2 separate regions of the Homo sapiens genome follow, and region 2 is linked to region 1. The links are contacts of gene promoters, found by promoter capture Hi-C in blood cells and fetal thymus (Javierre and others, 2016). All regions are on one chromosome and are shown on one strand. The core of a region is centred on a gene start or on the middle of the fragment in contact, and the rest is flanking DNA. Distances in the headings are between cores, read along the strand shown.

Evidence for each region. The method cuts DNA at HindIII sites, captures the fragments that hold promoters and counts their contacts. A CHiCAGO score of 5 or more calls a contact.
Region 2: a contact is called between a fragment that was not itself captured here and the fragment with the promoter of SGK2 in region 1, in 5 of 17 cell types (M1 macrophages, endothelial precursors, megakaryocytes and 2 more). The highest score is 6.8, in M1 macrophages.

The regions. Positions count from the first base shown.
Region 1 is chr20:43,557,235-43,560,823 of GRCh38, forward strand. It overlaps SGK2 (serum/glucocorticoid regulated kinase 2), which reads left to right and starts at 1,793. Exons shown (of 13, transcript NM_170693.3): 1 at 1,793-1,925. The HindIII fragment of the contact is 1,890 bases long and covers 1,053-2,942 here.
Region 2 is chr20:44,061,406-44,064,994 of GRCh38, forward strand. TOX2 (TOX high mobility group box family member 2) reads left to right here. Exons shown (of 9, transcript NM_001098797.2): 6 at 3,372-3,452. Among named protein-coding and RNA genes, the nearest start is that of JPH2, 120 kb to the right of the region's middle. The HindIII fragment of the contact is 7,560 bases long and covers 1-3,589 here.

The DNA of each region.
Region 1 (3,589 bases), core at 543-3,042:
CAGCCTCCCGAGTAGCTGGGACTACAGGCACTCGCCACCACGCCTGGCTAACTTTTTGTATTTTTAGTAGAGATGGGGTTTCACCATGTTAGCCAGGATGGTCTCGATCTCCTGACCTCGTGATCCACCCACCTCAGCCTCCCAAAGTGCTGGGATTACAGGCATTAGCCATGGCGCCCAGCCGGATTGTCACCCTTTAGTTAACAGCAGCTGCCTCTGGAAATGAGATTGAAGATGGGCTGGAGGGAAAGCTTTTACTTTTTATTTGACATTCTTCTGTAAGTTGGAATTATTTGATACACTTTATGCAACCAATACCAGTATGTGGCGTGTTTGGGGGTTTTTTAAGCAGCTCTGGAAGAGCAGAGGAGAGGGAGCTTGGTGGCACAGCAGCAGCAGCAGCAGGAGCTCTGGAAAGGGCAGGACCTTGTGCGCTGCCCTGATTTGCTCTGTGCACTTGGGCCAGCTACCTCCCCTATCTGGACCAGGGCCAGACACATGCTGCTATGTGTGTTGGTGGAGGTGGGGTGTGTGGCCATGCAGGGCTCCTCCGGAGCACAGCAGAGCAGCCGGTGTTTAAGGCACCAGAATTACCAGAAAGTTGTTGACATTTTAATGGAAAGGCAATGGAGGAAGCAGTGTGAAAGTCAGCCTGCTCAGGAGGGGTCACTGGGCAGAGCTTTCCTTACCTGTCCAGGGGTCCAGGCCCTGCCTGTGCCCTGAGTTAGAACCCAGGGCCGGCCAGGCGCGGTGGCTCACGCCTGTAATCCCAGCACTTTGGGAGGCCGAGGCGGGCAGATCACAAGGTCAGGAGATCGATACCGTCCTGGCTAATGCAGTGAAACCCCATCTCTACTAAAAATACAAAAATTAGCTGGGCGTGGTGGTGGGCGCCTGTAGTCCCAGCTACTCGGGAGGTTGAGGCCGGAGAATGGCGTGAACCTGGGAGGCGGAGCTTGCAGTGAGCTGAGATCACGCCACTGCACTCCAGCCTGGGTGACAGAGCGAGACTCTGTCTCAAAGAAAAAAAAAAAAGAACCCAGGGCCTGGGAAGCTTTGGGTCAACCCCCGAGAAAGCCTTCCCTGTTCTCCAGGGTGAACTCATCTCTGGTTCCTGAGCCTCAAATCTCTGAAGGGCAGAGTGGGGCATAGGTTTCAACTCAGCTGTGATTCTCCCAGAACGGTGCCAGGGCAGTGCTTGGTCGGGTAGGCTGTGGGTGGCAGTCTTCGGCTTAACACAAGAAATTGCCAGAGGCTGGCTCAGGGGGAAATGAGCTGCCCAGTCCTGGAAGTTTCCATGAAATGACTGAACATAGGGGCTGGTGGCCCCCATTAGGGAAGGGGTGGAGGAGGGTGTTGTGTGAGACCAACCTTTCAGTTGCTGGTTCACTAGGTTCCAAGCGAAAGGGAAGATGACTCAGCGGAGGGAATCAGGGAAGGCTGTGTAGGAGTCAGCACTTAAGCTGGACCTTGAGAGAGTGCGGCAGTTCCAGTGTTGAAAGGGACTTCAGAAACCGTCCCTCCAGCAGGACACACCATCCGTCACCAATTCACATGAGGCTCAGGGAGCTGAAGTCAGTTGCCCATGGTCACATAACAAGTTGTGCTTTAAAAAATTCAGAGAGTCCCCCAGGCAGGGCCCATCCAGGAGCCAGTGTGTGCAGCCAGCTTGGTAATTCAGGTCCAGTGGTTAATTAGTAACTGGAAGGCCCCGAAGCCAGCTTCCAGCAGGCAGGGCTGGGAGGTTGAACTTGAGCCGGTTTGGGAGCCAGGAGCGAGTGGGTGACAGGTCATTCCTGACTGGGAAGGTTGCTTGACAAGTCAGGATTGTGCCTCCAGTCAGAAGGACCATGAAGAGAGAGAAGAGGGCAGAGCCGTGCATGGGGCTGCTCCCCAGGACCTGAGCAGGAACCTGGAGTTTTCAGGTGAGAGGCTCACCTGTGAGCAGGATACCTGCCTGCTCGCCTATTGGTCTCCAGATTGACTAGTTACCTAGCTAACATCTTTCCTAGTACCTGTTTACTTTCTTTCCTTCCTTTCTTCCTTGGCGACTTCTTTCCCTTCTCCCTCCTTCCTTTCCTTCCTTCCCTCCCAACTATCTGCTTTCTCAGCTGCCTAATTTTCTTCCTCCTTAACTAACCAACTTACATCCTCACTTCCTTCCCACTGACTTCATTTTTTCCTTTTCTAGCTTTCTATTGTCTTCCTGAAATTCCAGGCCGTGGGCTTTGCAGTCAGATGGCCTGGGTTCAAATCCTGGTTATGTCATTTATTAACTGTCTTGATCATGTCACTTCCCTGTCCTTGCCTCAGTTTTCTCCTCCTTGAAACAGGGACGATGATAGTTCCTAACCCGTGGGGTTGTGGGAACAAAATAAGATCAAGTTGGCACTTGAACTGGGCAGGCGTGTAAATGAACAAGTTACAGTGAAGACAGGGACAGCAGCAGGAGAGGGTGCATGGGATCGGAGGGTCATCTGGCTTCCAGGAAAGGCAATGAGAACAGGTGAAAAGGTGAGCTGGAAAGACCAGGTTTGTTGGGGAATGTTCCAAGGAGAGAGAACTGTGTGACACTGTCCCACCCCCACACCCCATTTGGCAGGGCCAGGGAGCTGTAAGCAGGTCCATGTAACAGTGGGACAGAGGGAGGCAAGTCTGGGCTGTGGCAAGTTAGGAAAGGGACAGGCTTGAGGACTCATGGAGGGGCTTGAGTGGGAGTTTGCGGAGTCTGAAGAGTTAGGAGAATATATTGATGTCCAGCTTCTGGCCAGAAAATTAGAACACCGTGGTGCGAGAGAGAAGAAAGCCTTAGGAACTGAGGGCTGCTTAGGCATGGGGGTCACAGTCAAGGTGATGGGGGAGGGTGTGATGGGCCATGGGCATGCCAGGTTCCCACCAGGAACTCAGTACTTGAATATTAACTCAACAGCAATATCTTGAGAAGCTTTACACAATAGTACAAAGATAAAAGTTAAAATAACCGGCCGGGTACAGTGGCTCACACCCGTAATCCTAACACTTTGGGAGGCCGAGGCAGGCGGATCACCTGAGGTCAGGAGTTTGAGACCAGCCTAGCCAACATGGTGGAACCTCGTCTCGACTAAAAATACAAAAATTAGCCGAGCGTCGTGACACATGCCCGTAATCCCAGCTATTTGGGAGGCTGAGACAGGAGAATTGCTTGAACCCAGGAGGCGGAGGTTGCAGTGAGCAGAGATTGCGCCACTGCACTCCAGCCTGGGCGACAGAGCGAGACTCCATCTCAAAAAAAAAAAAAAAAAGTTAAAATAACCTAACCTAAGAACCCGCTGTGACCTTGGGTCATGACCCTGCAGTCTTTTTTTGGCAGCTGTGCTCACAAATGTGTACGTGCAGACATGTCTTTTGTTTTTCTTTTACAAAATTGGTACCCCTACAACACCTACTATTTTGAAACTTGGTTTTTTGCTTGATATTGTATCACATGTATGTTCCTGTTTTGGTTTATATAGGTTTTATATAGTTTTTGGTTGTGTAATTTTCCACTTTATATATGTACCAACATTTATCAATTCATTTATTGATTCATTAGTCAAATTGTACTGGGCAT
Region 2 (3,589 bases), core at 795-3,294, 500 kb after region 1:
AAAACGAAAACTGCAGGCCAGTATTCCTTCTATGCCCAAAATCAGCATAGAAGGGATATACTTCAAGGTAATAAAAGCCATCTATGATAAACCAGAGCCAACATTATAGTGAATGGGGAAAAATTGAAAGCATTCCCCTTGAGAACTGGAACAAGACAAGGATGCCCACTCTTACCACTTCTATTCAACAGAGTACTGGAATTCCTAGCCAGAGCAATCAGACAAGAGAAAGAAAGAGCATCCAAATCTGTAAAGAGGAAGTCAAAGTGTTGCTGTTTGCTGATGATATGATTGTATACCTAGATGAACATGAATGCAAAAATCCTCAGTACAATACTAGCTAACTGAATCCAATGTTGTATCAGAAAGATAATCCACCATGATCAAGTGGGTTTCATACCATGGATGCAGGGATGGTTTAACATACACGAGTCAATAAATGTGATATACCACATAAACAGAATTTAAAACCACATGATCATCTCAATAGACACAGAAAAAGCATTTGACAAAATTGAGCATCCCTTTGATTAAAACCCTCAGCAAAATCGGCATAGAAGGGACATACCTTAAGGTAATAAAAGCCATCTATGATAAATCCAGAGCCAACATTACACTGAATGGGGAAAAGTTGAAAGCATTCCCCCTGAGAACTAGAACAAGACAAGGATGCCCATTTATTCGATGCAGTACTGGAAGTCCTGGCCAGAGCAATCAGACAAGAGAAAGAAATAAAGGGCACCAAATCAGTAAAGAGGAAGTCAAACTGTCACTGTTTGCTGATGGGATTATCATATACCTAGAAAACCCTAAAGACTCATCCAAAAAGCTCCTAGAACTGGTAAATGAATTCAGCAAAGTTTCAAGATACAAAATTAATGTACACAAATCAATAGATCTGCTATACACCAACAGTGACCAAGCTGAGAATCACATCAAGAACTCAACCCCCTTTAACTGCAAAATAAATAAATAAATAAATAAATAAATAAATAAATAAATGAATAAATAAAATACTTAGGAATATACCTAACCAAGGAGGTGGAAGACCTCTACAAGGAAAACTACAAAACACTGCTGAAAGAAATCGTAGATGAAACAAATGGAAACACATCCCATGCTCATGGATGGGTAGAATCAATAGTGTGAAAATGACCATACTGCCAAAAGCAATCTATAAATTAAATGCAATTCCCATCAAAACACCACCAACATTCTTCACAGAACTAGAAAAAACAATCCTAAAATTCATGTGGAATCAAAAAAGAGCCCTCATAGCCAAAGCATGACTAAGCAAAAAGAACAAATCTGGAGGCATCACATTACCCGACTTCAAACTATATGGCCATAGTCACCAAAACAGCATGGTACTGGTATAAAAATAGGCATATAGACCATGGAAAAGATTAGAGAACCCAGATATAAAGCCAAATCCTTACAACCAACTGATCTTTAACAAAGCAAACAATAACATGAAGTGGGGAAAGGACACCTTATTCAACAAATGGTGCTTGGATAATTGGCAAGCCACATGTAGAAGAGTGAAACTGGATCCTCATCTCTCACCTTATACAAAAATCAACTCAAAATGGATGGAAGACTTAAATCTAAGACCTGAAACCCTAAAAATTCTAGAAGATAACACTGGAAAAACCCTTCCACAGACATTGGCTTAGGCAAAGACTTCATGACCAAGAACCCAAAAGCAAATGCAACAAAAACAAAGGTAAATAGATGGGACTTAATTAAACTAAAAAGCTGCACAGCAAAAGAACCAGCAGGGTAAACAGACAACCCACAGAGTGGGAGAAAATCTTCACAATCTATACTTTCGACAAAGGACTAATATCCAGAATCTACAAAGGAACTCAAATCAGCAAGAAAAAAACAATCCCATCAAAAATTGGGCTAAGGAGATGAATAGAGAATTCTCAAAAGAAAATATACAAATGGCCAACAAACATATTAAAAAATACTTAACATCATTATGATCAGGGAAATGCAAATCAAAACCACCTTACTCCTGCAAGAATGTCCATAATCAAAAAATAGATGTTGGCATGGATGTGGCAAAAAGGGAACACTTTTACACTGTTGGTGGGAATATAAACTAGTACATCCACTGTGAAAAACAGTGTGGAAATTCCCCAAAGAACTAAAAGTAGATCTACTGTTTGACCCAGCAATCCCACTGCTTGGTATCCACCCAGAGGAGAAGAAATTTTACAAAAAAGATACTTGCACATGTTTGTAGCAGCCCAATTTGCAATTGCAAAAATATGGAACCAGCCCAAATGCCCATCAATCAATGAGTAAAGAAAATGTGCTACATATATATACACACATATATATGTACACACACACACATATACATATATATGTACACACACACACACACAAACACCATGAAATACTACTCAGCCATAAAAAGGAAGGAAATAATGGCATTTGCAGCAACCTGGATGGAATTGGAGACAATTATTCTAAGTGAAGTAACTCAGGAATGGAAAACCAAACATTGTATGTTCTCATAAGTGGGAACTAAGCTATGAGGACACAAAGGCATAAGAATGATACAATGGACTTTGGGGACTTGGGGAAAAGGATGGTAGTGAAGGATAAAAGACTATCATCAGGTACAGTGTACACTGCTCAGGTGGTAGGTTCACCAACATCTCAGAAATCACCATTAAAGAACTTATTCATATACAAAAAAAATTTTTAAATAAGAGTTCCAAGAGTAGCAAGAGGGCTCACCAATATGTGATCACTTTGTCAGTCTCTGCATGCATCACATTTGTGCTTGTCTTATTGGCCAACACAAGTCACACAAGGCTAAGCTCCAAGTCATTTGCACCTCCTCGTTTCTACCAAAAGCCATGGAAACAAGGAGGTGCGAACAAACTGGGACCAGTCCTACAATAACATATGAACCTAGGTCTAAAATTTTTAATAAAAAATATTAGCAAACCGAATCCAAACTAACATACTATGAACAAGTAGGTTCATTCTAGGTTGCGAAGGTGGTTCGGCATTAAGAAATCTGCACTGTGCTGGCTCAGAATGGGGGCTTCAAAGGGCATTGTCTTTCTGTGATCAGTTGTGCTGATAGAACCTGGAGGCCCAGAGAGATGAAGCATGTTGGCCAAGGCCACACAGTGACTTGGCTGAGGAACTGGGATATGGCCTGGTCTCCACAATTTCTCTGCAGCGCTCCCAGAAAGGGGCCAGTGGCTGGCTGACTCAGCTTCTGACCCCACCACCCTCGTCCATTCGTGATCCTTGAATCCATGCCTTCCCACCCCAGGACCCTGCACGGCATCTCCTCTGTAACTTTCTCCCCAGTGTTGCTCATGTGTTGACTCTTCCAGGCCTACAAGAGGAAGACAGAAGCAGCAAAGAAGGAATATCTGAAGGCCCTGGCAGCCTACCGGGCTAGCCTCGTCTCCAAGGTAACACCCGGAATCTCCAGGCACAGCCCTGATCAGAGTGGGGCCACTTGAGGAATGGAGCAAGAACTGGGGCCCGTGGGAAGGGCCGGCACCCCAGGTCTTAGAAAGAATGGCTCAGACCTACATGGTCATGTCTG